Linked DNA regions of Homo sapiens: region 1 is linked to region 2. Evidence: promoter capture Hi-C in human tissues and cell types (Jung and others, 2019). All regions are on one chromosome and are shown on one strand. Each heading gives the region's core, a stretch centred on a gene start or on the middle of the fragment in contact. The rest is flanking DNA. Distances are from core to core; before and after follow the strand shown. Region 1 has its middle 7.2 kb from the start of MPV17L2. Region 2 holds the start of PGLS (6-phosphogluconolactonase).

Region 1 (4,573 bases), core at 1,167-3,666, 670 kb after region 2:
ACATAAGCCTGTTTGACTAGTCTTAATTTACATAAGCAAATGTGGTTTTCTAAAGTCAATGAAATAGAGCTCCTTTACAAGTTAATCTTTAGGAATTCCATCAAGAGGGAGAAAGTGTTACATACCTATAACATATATATATATAAACATAAATAGGTGCAGTCAGAAATCTTATAGCTTTCATTTTAAAATTATAGCTGTGAGACAGGTGTGATAATACAAAACTCACTAGTTTTTAAAAAAATGGTGGAGCCGGGCACAGTGGCTCACGCCTGTAATCCTAGCACTTTGAGAGGCCGAGGCAGGCAGATCATTTGAGGCCAGGGAGTTCAAGACCAGCCTGGGCAACATGGAGAAGCCCCATCTCTACTAAAAATACAAAAATTAGCCAGGCGCAGTGACTCACGCCCATAATCCCAGTACTTTGGGAGGCCGAAGTGGGCTGATCACCTCAGGTTGGGAGTTCAAGACCAGCCTGACCAACATGGAGAAACCCTGTCGCTACCAAAAATACAAAATTGGCCAGGTGTGGTGGCACATGCCTGTAGTCCCAGCTACTCGGGAGGCTGAGGCAGGAGAATCACTTGAACCCAGGAGACAGAGGTTGCAGTGAGCTGAGATCGTGCCTCTGCACTCCAGTCTGGGTGACAGAGCCAGACTCAATCTCAAAAAATATAAATAAATAAATAAGTGAGATCCAATTTGCATCTGCAGAGGCAGATGAAATGAGTTAAGATTACCTACTCAGATCATGAAAGCTTTGTGCTAACATTTGTAAAGACTGTTAAAATTTTTCACTTGCCAGTTGGTTTCCAAATTGCCCTCTGAGAACACAGTTCTGATCCATTGCAGGGGAGCCCCAAATTTTGGGCTTAGCCCAGGAGGGCTCTTGGCTTCTTCTAGGAAAGTATCCAAGGGTGACCTGGTGGTGTTATACAGCACCTTTTTTTTTTTCCCTGAAAGAGTCTTGCTCTGTTGCCCAGCCTGGAATGCAGTGATGTGATCACAGCTCACTGCAGTCTCCAAATCCTGGGCTCTAGAATCCCCTTTGCCTCAAACTTCTGAGTAGCTGGGACTACAGGCATGCACCACCTATCCGAGCTAATTTTTTAAATTTTTGTGGAGATGGGGTCTTGCTATGTTCCCCAGGCTGGTCTCAAACTCCTGAGCTCAAGTGATCCTCCTGCTTCAGCCTCCCAAAGTGCTGGGATCACAGGTGTGAGCCATAATCCCAGCCTGATAAGAATTCGTCCTTTTCTTTTTTTTTTTTGAGACGGAGTCTGGCTCTGTTGCCCAGGCTGGAGTGCAGTGGTACTTTCTCGGCTCACTGCAACCTCCATTTCCCGGGTTCAAGCGGTTCTTCTGCCTCAGCCTCCCGATTAGCTGGGATTACAGGTGCCTGCCACTACGCCTGGATAATTTTTTTGTATTTTTAGTAGAGACGGGGTTTCACCATGTTGGCCAGGCTGGTCTTGAACTCCTGACCTCAGGTGATCCACCCACCTCGGCCTCCCAAAGTGCTGGGATTACTGGTGTGAGTCACCGTGCCAGCCTTTTTTTTTTTTTTTTTTTTTTTCTGAGACAAAGTCTCACTCTGTTGCCCAGGCTGGAATTCAGTGGTGCTATCTCAGCTCACTGAAACCCCAGCTTCCCAGGTTTCAGTGATTCTCCTGCCTCAGACTCCCGAGTAACTGGGACTACAGGCACACACCACCACACTCAGCTAATTTTGCTATTTTTTGGTAGAGATGGGGTTTCACCGTGTTGGCCAGACTGGTCTTGATCTCCTGACCTCAAGTAATCCACCCACCTCAGCCTCTCAAAAAGCTGGGATTACAGGCATGAGCCACCGCGTCCGGCTGAATTCTTACTTTGCATTGGCTTGTCAGGTCCCAGCATTTCTCCCCTGCAGACCCCAGAGGGAGCAGATATTCCCAGCCAATTGTAGCCCATCCTCATCACCAGAAACTAGCAGGGCTAGAGCTTTCCTCCTCTCTCTGGTGTCTGGCTCAGACTGACAGACAGATTAACAAAACAATAGCACACAAAGCTTATTCATTGTAGATGGGAGCCCTCACGAGAAAAATGGAGACCGAAAAAAGTAACTAGACCTAAGTGTTTGTTTTGAGACAGGGTCTTGCTGTGTCATCCAGACTGGAGTGCAGTAGCGGGATCACAGCTCACTGAAGCCTTGACCTCTCAGGCCCAAGCAATCCTCCTGTCTCAGCCTCCCAAGTAGTTGGGACTAGAGTTGCACACCACCACACCTGGCTAATTTTTTAAAAATTTTGGCCGGGCACGGTAGCTCATGCCTGTAATCCCAGTACTTTGTGAGGCAGAGGCTGGGGGATCACCTGAGGTCAGGAGTTCAAGACCAGCCTGGCCAACATGATAAAACCCGTCTCTAGTAAAAATACAAAAATTAGCCAGGCGTGGTGGCGGGCGCCCATAATCCTAGCTACTTGGGAGGCTGAGGCAGGAGAATCACTTGAACCTGGGTGGCGGAGGTTGCAGTGAGCTGAGATCGCGCCACTGCACTCCAGCCTGGGCAACAGAGTGAGACTCCTTCTCAAAAATAAAGAAAAAATAAAAAGATAGATCACAGAGCCCTTCTGGGCTGGCTGCGGTGGTTCGTGCCTGTAATCCTAGAATTTTGGGAGGCTGAGATGGGCAGATAACTGAGGTCAGGGGATCAAGACCAGCCAGACCAACATGGCAAAACCCCGTCTCTACTAGACATACAAAAATTAGCCGGCCATGGTGGTACATGCCTGTAATCCCAGATACTTGGAAGGCTGAGATAAGAGAATCACTTGAACCCGGGAGGTGGAGGTTGCAGTGAGCCAAGATCATGCCACTGCACTCCAGACTGGGCAACAGAGTGAGACTCCCTCTCAAAAAAATAAAAAGAAGAGCCCTTCTTGCATCCACTGTTTGCAAGTGTGTTTAACTCAAAATTCTCAATATCAATATGCCAAAGTTGTATGCTGGTATGTTATGGGTGACATGTCCTGAACACTATCAACAGAAACATACAAAAATTACTGCCAGGTATCAAAAGCTGCTCTTCCTGGGAAGCAATAAAGTATCTTTTGTTTTTCTGTTTTTGAGACAGAGCCTGGCTCTGTCGCCCAGGCTGGAGTGCAATGACAAGATCTCGGCTCACTGCAACCTTTGCCTCCCGGGTTCAAGTGATTCTCCCGCCTCAGCCTCCCATGTAGCTGGGATTACAGGCACCCGCCATCATGCCTGGCTGATTTTTGTATTTTTAGTAGAGACGGGGTTTCACTATGTTGGCCAGGCTGGTCTTGAACTCCCGACATCAGGTGATCCGCCTGCCTCGGCCTCCCAAAGTGATGGAATTACAGCCATGACCCACCGCACCCAGCCCCATAAATTCTCTTAATTTTATTTTTTATTTTACTTTTTGAGGCAGGGTCTCGCTGTGTCATCCAGGCCAGAGTGTAGTGTCACCATCTCAGCCAGCTGAAGACTCAGCCTCTGGGACTCAAGCGATCCTCCCACGTCAGCCTCTCAAGTAGCTGGGACTACAGGTGTGCACTACCGTACCCGGATAATTTTGTTATCCGGTCTTACCATGTTACCTGGTCTTACCATGTTGCCCAGGCATCTGGGCAACTCCAACTCCTGACCTCAAGCGATCCTCCTGCATCCAGGTCCCAAATGGTAGGATTACAGGCATAAGCCACCGAGCCCGGCCAAGCAACAATTTTTTTTTTTTTTTTTGAGACAAAATCTCGCTCTGTCGCCCAGGCTGGAGTGCAATGGCATGATCTCAGCTCACTGCAAACTCCGCCTCCCAGGTTCAAGCGATTCTCCTGCCTCAGCCTCCAAGTAGCTCAGATTACAGACATGCACCACCACACCTAGCTAATTTTTGTATTTTTAGTAGAGATGGGGTTTTGCCATGTTGGCCTGACTGGCCTTGAACTCCTGACCTCAAGTGATCCACCCGCCCCAGCCTCCCAAAGTGCTCGGATTACAGGCATGAGCCACCGTGCCTGGCCAATAAATTCTTAATTTATCCACCATTGTCTCTCAGCAACCAGTAATCCATTTGTAGATTACCAAATGGTCAGCTCAATGTCAAACAAAACTATGGGAGACCACTGTTTTGGACTGAGCTCCTGCACTAGGCACCAACAGACCAGATGAAACCAGAATGGAGTCACTCGTGCTAAATGCCACATAATCAAACTGAAACTTTGAGGAAGCAGACATATCCCAAACAGATCAGTTTCTTATTTTTTTTTTTTTTAAATTTGTTTTGTAGAGATGAGGTTCTGGCCAAGTTGCCCAGGCTGGTCTTGAACTCCTGGCCTCAAGCGATCCTCCTGCCTCAGCCTCCCAAGGTGCTGGTATTATAGGCATGGTCCACTGTGCCCAGCTGTCTTTCCTAAAAATAGATTTTAGTCTACCTGGGCCGGGCACGGTGGCTCATGCCTGTAATCCCAGCACTTTGGGAGGCCGAGGTGGGCGGATCACAAGGTCAGGAGATCGAGACCATCCTGGCTAACATGGTGAAACCCCCTCTCTACTAAAAATACAAAAA
Region 2 (4,206 bases), core at 313-2,812:
ATTTTATTCAATATTGTTTTGGCTATTTTGGGGCCATTTGCAATTTATTATTAATTTTAGGATCAATTTGTCAATTTCAACAAAAACATTGTAAATTTGAAAGGGATTACATTGCATCCGTAGACCAATTTGTGGAGTACTGCCATCTTAACAATATTATACTTTCCAATCCATGAACGTGGAATGTCTTACCATTTATTTAGATCATCTTTAATTTTTTTTTTCACCAAAGTTTTAGTTCTTTTGCTTGTTTCGAGACAGGGTCTCACTCTATTGCCCAGGCTGGAGTGGAATGGCAGGAACACAGCTCACTGCAGCCTTAGTCTCCTGGGCTCAAGTGATCCTCCCACCACAGCCTCCCAAGTAGCTGGGACCACAGGCAGCTGCCACCGGGTCCAGCCTTGGCTTCCCAACGTGCTGGGATTACAGCTGTGAGCCACCAAGCCCAGCTACAGCTCTCAAGAAGTACAGTCTTGTACTTCTTTTATTAAATTTATGCCTACTTTATACTTTATGATGCTATGGTAAATGGAATTGTTTTCTTAATTTGCTACTGATTTTAAAATCCACTACCTGTGTGAGTTGAACTGCGCTTACACACATCACTGAAATATCCCACTCTCAGAAGTGGCCCAGCCTCCCCAGGCCCACCAGGCCTTCTTCCCCTTCCAGCCCTCTGTCCAGGCAAGAACTCGATTGGAGGCCTTTCTGGGCACTCAGAGGGACACACCACCACACTAGGAGGGTTAGCTTAAAAAATTCAACAAGCATGGCCAGGCGCAGTGGCTTTCGCCTGAATGCTACCACTTTGGGAGGCCGAGGCAGGAAGATCGCTTGAGCCCAGGGGTTCAAGATCAGCCTAGACCATATAGCAAGAGCCCGTCCGTCCGGAAAATGTAAAAAAAAAAAAAAAAAAAATTCAACAAGCATATTTTCATCCCCTACTTTTTTTTGAGATGGAGCCTCGCTCTGTCGCCCAAGCTGGGGTGCAGTGGCACGATCTCGGCTCACTGCAACCTCCGCCACCCCGGTTCAAGCGATTCTCCTGCCTCAGCCTCCCGAGTAGCTGGGACTACAGGCGCCCGCCACTACGCCCGGTTAATTTTTTGTGTTTTCAGTAGAGACGGGGTTTCACCGTGTTAGCCAGGATGGTCTCGATCTCCTGACCTCGTGATCCGCCCGCCTCGGCCTCCCAAAGTGTTGGGATTACAGGCGTCAGCCACCGCGCCCGGCGGTGCAGGAATTTTAAAACTCACCAAAATACGCCCTCCTTCAGAAAATCCCTGCCACCTCGATAGGACGTCCTCTTCTTGAGCTCCCCTCTCCGGCCCTCCCTGATACAGCAAGGTTGAGCATTCGGGCACTGGCTTCCCGAACTCACTTCGACTCAGGCACAGCAGGCAAAGATTCAATGGGTAGGGCCGGACCGACTGCCCGACCTTCGCGGTGCTTCACTTGCCTCACTGCGCATGTGCCAAAGACAATCACCCAAAGTACTCGAAACCAAGCGGCAGGGCCGGCCCTTGCGCAGGCGTACTAGCGACGGCCGTAGGGAGCGCTTCCTCCTCCCCGCCGCCGCCCTCGCCATGGCCGCGCCGGCCCCGGGCCTCATCTCGGTGTTCTCGAGTTCCCAGGAGCTGGGTGCGGCGCTAGCGCAGCTGGTGGCCCAGCGCGCAGCATGCTGCCTGGCAGGGGCCCGCGCCCGTTTCGCGCTCGGCCTGTCGGGCGGGAGCCTCGTCTCGATGCTAGCCCGCGAGCTACCCGCCGCCGTCGCCCCTGCCGGGCCAGCTAGCTTAGCGCGCTGGACGCTGGGCTTCTGCGACGAGCGCCTCGTGCCCTTCGATCACGCCGAGAGCACGTACGGCCTCTACCGGGTGAGAGCTACGGGGGCCGCCGGGGATCACGCCGAGAGGGCCACAGCCACCGCCTACACCCCGGCTACGGAGGCCGCCGGGGGCCATGCCGAAAGGGCCGCGCCCACTGTCTGCACCTCGGCTACGGGGGCCACTGGGTATCATGCCAAGAGGGCCGTGCCCACTGCCTGCACCTCGGCTACGTGGGTCGCTGGGGGTCATGCCAAGAGGGCCGCGCCCACCGGTTGCCCTCGGCTACGGGGGCCACTGGGGGTCATGCCGAGATGGTCACGCCCACTGCCTGCACCTCGACTACGGGGGCCGCTGGGGGTCTAGCCGACAGGGCTCGCCCGCCTCCTGAACCCCGCCTACAGTGGGTCCCGCAGGACCTCACTGCGCCCTCTGCCTTTATCTAGGCAGGGCTAGAAATGGTCTACTTGCAGTCCGTCTTCCTGCTTCATCCGGTGGCCAGGCAGAGGGAACGGCACGGGCAAGGGCCTGGAAGGGAATCCGAGTGGCCCATGTCAAACGATGCCCATAACTCAGCCCCGTAGCGGACGGGGGCACGAGGAATCAGGTGTAGAGCCTGAATCTCAGGGTCCTGATCTCTAACCCCAGCGAGTTCTCGGGGATCCCTGGGCAGCTTTGCCGCTCTGATGGCTCTGCTTCCAGGCTGTTCATCTTTGGCTTTGAGCCTCAGGATTCTATAGAATCAGAGGAGCGCGCTCTTTTAAAGACAGGGTAACTGAGGCTTGGAGGAGCCTTGGCCTGGCCGAGGGAAGAGTGGGAGGGGCGGGCTCAAAGGCCAGGAACCTCAAGTCACTTGAGTCTGGCAGCGTCAAGGGACACCCCATGCTGGGTGTGCCGTCTTCTCTTTGCATAGAATCTTGAGCTGATGATGGTTTTGTGGGTTTTTTATTAAGAGAAAAGGCTTACTGAACGCTTTATATGCATCAATTCATGAGTCCGTACCACAGCCTATGAGATGTTACACTCATTTCACAGATGGAGAAACTGAGGCCAGAAGAGGTGAGCTTACCTGCCCAAGGCATCTAGTGACCAGAGGGGCAGCCAGGGTGTGATCCTGCCTCATCTGACTTCGTAGTTGGGTACACATTTAACTTCCGCCTTCCTGTGTGTGTTTTCCAAGAGCATCATTAAAAAGTTTTGGCCGGGTGCGGTGGCTCACGCGTGTAATCCCAGCACTTTGGGAGGCCGACGTGAGTAGATCACCTGAGGTCAGGATTTCGAGACCAGCCTGGCCAACATGGCAAAACTCTGTCTCTACTAAAAAAAAATACAAAAATTGGCTGGGTGCGGTGGCTCACGCTTGTAATCCCAGCACTTTGGGAGGCTGAGGCGGGCGGATCACGAGGTCAGGAGTTTGAGACCAACCTGACCAACATGGTGAAACCTGTCTCTACTAAAAATGCAAAAATTAGCCAGGTGTGGTGGTGCGCACCTGTAATCCCAGCTACTCGGGAGGCTGAGGCAGGAGTGAGGCATGATCAGTGAACCGAGATCATGCCATTACACTCCACCCTGGGCGACAGAGTGAGACTGTCTTAAAGATAAAAAAAAAAAAAAGCAGGTTTTTGGCCGGGCGTGGTGGCTCATACCTGTAATCTCAGCACTTTGGGAGGCCAAGGATGGTGGATCACCTGAGGTCAGGTGTTGGAGACCAGCCTAGCCAACATGGCAAGACCCCATCTCTACTAAAAATACAAAAATTAGCTGGGTGTGGTGGCGTGTGCCTGTAATCCCGGCTACAGGGGAGGCTGAAGCACGAGAATCGCTTGAATGTGGGAGGCAGAGGTTGCAGTGAGCTGAGATCATGCCACTGCACTCCAGCCTGGGCGACAGTTGAGACTCTGTCTCAAAATAAATAATTGTGAAATGCTGCAGAGTGCTAGGGAATAGGGAGTGAGCATTCGTCAAGGGCTATGGGGTGGGAGGTCCTGAGAAGGTGCCATTTGAGCTGAGAGCTGGAGCATGTGCAGGAGCTGGCCATGGTCAAGCTGTGGCAAGAGGGCTCAGCTAAGGCCAAAGCCGTGTGATGGGAGCAAACCTGAAGCCAGGACTTGCTCCTTCTGCCGGTTCTCTGTGAGGGGAATCATATCGGTTCCCTAGGGCTACATAACGAATGACCACAAACTGAGCGGCTTAAAGCCACAGGAATTTATTCTCTCACCGTTCTGGAGGCCAGAAGTCTGAAATCAAGGTGTTGGTGGGGTCACGCCCCATCTGAAAGCTCTTTGGGAGGATCCTTCATTTTCTCCTCATCTTCTGGGGGCTCTGGGCGTTCCTTGGCTTGGGGTCACACCATTCCAATTCCTGTCTCTGTCTGCACATG

The links. The method cuts DNA at HindIII sites, captures the fragments that hold promoters and counts their contacts. A contact is called where the count stands out against the background at its distance.
Region 1: a contact is called between a fragment that was not itself captured here and the fragment with the promoter of PGLS in region 2, in 1 of the 25 tissues and cell types used here (dorsolateral prefrontal cortex).

What each region holds. Positions count from the first base shown.
Region 1 is chr19:18,183,764-18,188,336 of GRCh38, forward strand. No RefSeq gene overlaps it. Among named protein-coding and RNA genes, the nearest start is that of MPV17L2, 7.2 kb to the right of the region's middle. The HindIII fragment of the contact is 5,661 bases long and covers 1-4,573 here.
Region 2 is chr19:17,510,087-17,514,292 of GRCh38, forward strand. PGLS (6-phosphogluconolactonase) reads left to right here and starts at 1,563. Exons shown (of 5, transcript NM_012088.3): 1 at 1,563-1,874. The coding sequence starts at 1,587. It overlaps PGLS-DT (PGLS divergent transcript), which reads right to left and starts at 1,803. Exons shown (of 3, transcript NR_147835.1): 1 at 1,257-1,803. RefSeq lists enhancers at 409-1,066, 1,067-1,723, 1,291-1,540, 2,034-2,328, 2,291-2,550 and 1 more and silencers at 1,601-1,730, 1,741-1,790, 2,034-2,328. The HindIII fragment of the contact is 13,558 bases long and covers 1-3,594 here.